Linked DNA regions of Homo sapiens: region 1 is linked to region 2. Evidence: promoter capture Hi-C in 16 types of primary human blood cells and fetal thymus (Javierre and others, 2016). All regions are on one chromosome and are shown on one strand. The core of a region is centred on a gene start or on the middle of the fragment in contact, and the rest is flanking DNA. Distances in the headings are between cores, read along the strand shown.

Region 1 (2,700 bases), core at 136-2,635, 2.2 Mb before region 2:
TTGAAAACTTCTACATCTGACTTATCAAAGTCAGAAGTACATTGCTCAAATTTGTAATGCTATTTCATAACTTCCTGCCTTGGCAAATTTTGTTCTCTCTGCCTGGAAGTTATAAACGCGTCTTTCTAAACTTAGTTCAAGAGTCTCCCCTGGAAAATCTCAAAAATAGTTAATTAACTTTCTCCATTGTCACATGCTATATTTTGCATAGAAAAATATTTAGCACTTACAATACTTTTTACTCAAAATTATCGCCTATCTAAAACAATAATTCATAGTCTCCATGTTATGAGAAACTATCACTATCTTTAGGAAAGAGAAAATTTATTCCCACAGGTTTAAAAAATGAAATATTTACTTTTCAAGTAAAAGAATGTCAACTTCTGCCTATATTAGGAGAAACAAAAGAGAACGTTGCAAATAAAAAAAAAATTATTGCTTCATTGGCTCAACACCAGCTATGCACTGGTGATACAAAGATAAATAAGGAAGTCCCTTCCAATATTACACAATACGTAGAATGGCATTGAATTGTAATTGCATGTAACTCATGAAAACGCATGCTGTTTTTTAGGACCTAACATCCATGTAAATTATGACTCCACTATATCTTCAAACAACAATGAAACATTAGGCAGCATGCACTTTCAGTCAAGTTAACTGTATATTATACTCCAAGACACTACCATACATGTAACAGTAATGGATAAATTATAAAAAGTTAAAAATTATAAAGATATCAGGTAGTCAAAAAACAAAAGAAGTGCAAGACAAGGGTGGGAACTGAGCTCATTATTTCAAGCCATGCAATTCCTTAAATTATTTCTTATGAAATGAAGCCAGATAAAATTGCCATGTTCTGCTGCTACTGAAAATTATATGAAGATGCAAAGTTTTCTAGTATCACTGTTGGACAGGAAATCAGAATTGCTAATCTAAGATTTCATTCTGCACTAGAATTCCTAAACAATTGAGTGCAGTCAACCAAAAAGCTAAAAGATATGCACAGTTTACAGAAAGTGAAAAGTCCTACTCCACTGAGCCTGAAATTAAAAATTCCAAAATAAATAATCAAATCTAACAATGAGAATAATGATCCAAAACACTAACACTTGAAAGCTGCTTTCACACCAGATAAAATGAAAACAACCAAAGTGTTTTAAAAGATAAAAACAGGAGCAAGTATGTTCAGTCTGTAGAAAGCTAAATAAAAGAATCATTAAAGAATCAACTCCAAAAGTGAAAAAGGGCAATTAAAAATGATATAAAAAGTGAATAGAGAGAATATCTAAAAAATCAACACATTATCTCTAGAAGAAAAACATTCAATAGAAGAGATGTGAACAAAATCAAATAATTAATAGAAGACAATGAGGAATTTTCTTGGTGTGCAGTAATGAGAGACAAGTAAATTTTTAAAATATAAAGGAGCAGCTAAGAGACATAAAGAATAAATTGAGAGTCTTCAACTCTAACAGGAATCCAAGAAGCGTGGCCGAATGGTAGGAAATCATTTAAAGAAACAAAAGCTCAGTGAAATACTTGAGTCTTGACAGAAAACTTACATTCATCAGAAATTAAAGATAATCAATTATAAATGTAGATAGAGAAGAAAGTCAGATCGCTGAAAAGAAATTAGAGACAATTAGACTTTCAATATACTTATCAGCAATAAAAAATACTGGAAGACAAAAGTATGATGTTCTTAATGTGCCAAAGAAAAATAACTTTCCACTGAAATTTCTATTTTTGGCCACACTAACATTCAAGAAGACTGATAAAGATATTTTCAGGTATTAAAAAATGAGAAAATTCATAGTCCCCAAATTCACACTGAAAGGCTTATTAAAATATATGCTTGGCCGGGCACGGTGCTTCATGCCTTTAATCCCTGCACTTTGGGAGGCCAAGGCGGGCAGATCACGAGGTCGGGAAATCGAGACCATCCTGGCTAACACAGTGAAGCCTCATCTCTACTAAAAATACAGAAAATCAGCAAGGCATGATGGCACGCACTTGTAGTCCCACCTACTCAGGAAGCTGATGCAGGAGAATCGCTTGAACCCAGGAGGCGGAGGTTGCAGTGAGCCGAGATCATGCCACTGCACTCTAGCCTGGGTGACAGAGCAAGACTCCGTCTCAAAAAAAAAAAAAAAAAAAAAAAATATATATATATATATATATGTATATATATATATACTTATACAAGAAGAAAACAGCCAAGATAGATAGGAGTAGTCATATGAATATTATGATGTAAAATGGCAAATTGAATTAGTTATTGATTTATGAATCATAGCATAGCTAATTGGAAACTAAAAAATATAAATGATAAAACTAAGATTGTAATTAGTACTACTGGGAGGGGAATGGTTCAGAGTTAAAGGGCTGACGTTTCTTGTCTTTTAAAGATGGGAGAGAATAATGTTGCAAGATTTTAAGTTGTGTTAAAGAACTTAGTTATATATGTATGTTCCACACTTAAAGCTAAGTATTGTAATAGACAAATACTCTATCACTTCTAAAACAACAGAAGCATGAGAAAGAGAGTAAGAATACATATTCTGTCCAAACAAATTTATAAAACAAAAGAAAGTGAGGAATTTAAAAAATAGAACTGGGAAATAAAAAACACAACATAAGTATGTGTGTGTTTGTGTGCATACACACACAACAAATATAAACAAGTGGTATTTATCA
Region 2 (2,700 bases), core at 66-2,565:
ATATTGAATCAATTATCTAAATGCTCTAGGCTGTAAATACACTTTAACCTGGAATGTCAAGATAATTAAGACAAAATTGGATTATTAAGATTATTATTAGTGAGGGCAAATGACATCTAAGATAGCCATGTTAAAAGTGGAGTATCATATTAAAAAGACAACTAGATCCCAGGGAACATCAATAGAGTTTAAGTCCATTGAACAGATACTGAATTCTTTTTCATAATCTGCCAAAAAAAGGTTAGCTTGAAAATTTTCTTTTAGTTTCTCAAATATCACACTGCTGCAGTACACGAACCTTTACTCATTAATAACTAAGGTCCTGATTTTTTTCATATGCTTTGCTCGAAGATGTAGTATTTTGCAGCCATAGACAGTCTTCTAAGATCTCTCCTAGTGTTAACCCACCTATCCTCACCTCTCCCTTGAGATTTTTCTTTATTTTTTGATGAACTATCTGGGCTTTTAAACTTTGTTAACCTTTTTTGAGGATACGGTCACTTAATCTCAATGTAATTTTACTTTCCACAGTCAAAAACTATTGTGTAATACTCATGCACTGGATTTAAATGACTGCTGCCTCTCCTTCCTTTCTTTTTATACTATTGTGGTCTAGGTAAGGCTGATTCTTCCATCATTTGAACCAACAGGCCAGGCTTGGGTTCTCATAAAGCAGACCTTCCAGCAGGAGCGACCAAAGGATGACACTGTCACCTGAAATTGGACTGCTGTTGTACCTGACTTGGGAACATCTTTGAATCAGACAGTAGAAGTGGCTGTCATTTTCAGGGACAGTAGAAAGTATGTTGGCTCTCATCTGCCAAGTAGGCAAACACAATCTTTTTTTTTTTTTTTTCCTTCCAACGTTCTAGGGAGCTCAGCCTCAGGGCTAGCCGCAGCCCCCCACACCCCGGGGCTGCGGTGGGCTGCGCGGTGGATCAGCCTCAGCAGCCCCTGCTCCAGCCTGTAGGGTGAACCGGCCGCTTTCCCAGCAAAGGAGCAATCGAGCTGAGGGTAGCGCCTCCTCCGCAGGAGGGGGCGGGAGCTCGGCTGAGAAAGCTTTCCTAGGGAGTTGCCTTAAAGAAAGAAAGCGGAATTGTCGATCACTCCAGTTGCCAGTTTTATACAATTTTAAGCAGTCGTCGCCACTCGTTTCCCCTTTGCAAAACTGCAAATCACCACCAACCTTGCATCAAATAGAAGTGGGGAGGGAAAAAAAAAGCAAATCTCCTTCTCCCTTCTCACCCTCCCTTTCTTCTCACCCTCCCTTCCTCTCTTACTCGCTCCTTCTCCCTCCCTCCCTTCTGCGGCTGCCGCTAGTCTCTCGGTCTGGCTCTCTCTCCGACGGGACTTAGCAACTTCTTATTTCTCAGCCCCTTGTCCATTTTTTTTTTTCCATCCTTTGCCATGAATTGGATTGACAGAGGCGGGGGAGGCTTTGCTTTCTGCCCCAGGGAATGGCGATTCGCGTCCTGGGGCCGTGCCGGGGAGAATCGGCCGAGGAGAAAGAAAGAGTGATAGAAAAAGAGCTGCAGGAAGGAGGAGAAGGGAGACCTCCATCTGCCGCGGGCCCGGCGCGCTGCAGCGCAGCGCAGCGCCGAGCTGCGCCTCGGAATGGCCCGGAGCCCGCCCTGCGCCCCCGGCTCCTCCAGCGTCAGCGGCTCCTGCGCGCGGGATGCATTGGGCAATTTTTGAAATCCTGAAGTAGGAAGAGACCCCGGAGGATATAAGTCGGGGGTGGGGGTGGAGCAGAGAATCTGTGAAAGATATTCAAAGAGAGAAAAGGGGAATCCTGATCGTTTCTGCCCGTGCTTGTTTTCAACTTGAGCGTGCTAGCCTTTAACTTGAAGAAGTCTCATTGGAGCATCTAGCATTCTCCAGGAGTTATTCGAAAGCTGAAACTTTCAGTGGATTGTGGGCCTGGGGAGAAGAAGGATTCCGAGGGTGGAATTGGGAAGAGCGTGCGTGCGTGTGTGTGTGTGTGTGTGTGCGCGCGCGCGCGTGGGTCGGGGCGGGGGCGTCGGGGGGCCACTGGGAATTCAGTGAAGAGGGCACCCTATACCATGGCAGTGCCCGGCGACGCTGCACGAGTCAGGGACAAGCCCGTCCACAGTGGGGTGAGTCAAGCCCCCACGGCGGGCCGGGACTGCCACCATCGTGCGGACCCCGCATCGCCGCGGGACTCGGGCTGCCGTGGCTGCTGGGGAGACCTGGTGCTGCAGCCGCTCCGGAGCTCTCGGAAACTTTCCTCCGCGCTGTGCGCGGGCTCCCTGTCCTTTCTGCTGGCGCTGCTGGTGAGGCTGGTCCGCGGGGAGGTCGGCTGTGACCTGGAGCAGTGTAAGGAGGCGGCGGCGGCGGAGGAGGAGGAAGCAGCCCCGGGAGCAGAAGGGGGCGTCTTCCCGGGGCCTCGGGGAGGTGCTCCCGGGGGCGGTGCGCGGCTCAGCCCCTGGCTGCAGCCCTCGGCGCTGCTCTTCAGTCTCCTGTGTGCCTTCTTCTGGATGGGCTTGTACCTCCTGCGCGCCGGGGTGCGCCTGCCTCTGGCTGTCGCGCTGCTGGCCGCCTGCTGCGGGGGGGAAGCGCTCGTCCAGATTGGGCTGGGCGTCGGGGAGGATCACTTACTCTCACTCCCCGCCGCGGGGGTGGTGCTCAGCTGCTTGGCCGCCGCGACATGGCTGGTGCTGAGGCTGAGGCTGGGCGTCC

What was found. The method cuts DNA at HindIII sites, captures the fragments that hold promoters and counts their contacts. A CHiCAGO score of 5 or more calls a contact.
Region 1: a contact is called between a fragment that was not itself captured here and the fragment with the promoter of PDE3A in region 2, in 1 of 17 cell types (M2 macrophages). The highest score is 6.3, in M2 macrophages.

Annotation. Positions count from the first base shown.
Region 1 is chr12:18,146,079-18,148,778 of GRCh38, forward strand. No RefSeq gene overlaps it. Among named protein-coding and RNA genes, the nearest start is that of RERGL, 57 kb to the left of the region's middle. The HindIII fragment of the contact is 4,588 bases long and covers 1-2,700 here.
Region 2 is chr12:20,367,222-20,369,921 of GRCh38, forward strand. It overlaps PDE3A (phosphodiesterase 3A), which reads left to right and starts at 1,316. Exons shown (of 16, transcript NM_000921.5): 1 at 1,316-2,700. The coding sequence starts at 2,064. It overlaps PDE3A-AS1 (PDE3A antisense RNA 1), which reads right to left. Exons shown (of 2, transcript NR_186033.1): 1 at 2,620-2,700. RefSeq lists a silencer at 2,354-2,648. The HindIII fragment of the contact is 3,200 bases long and covers 1,058-2,700 here.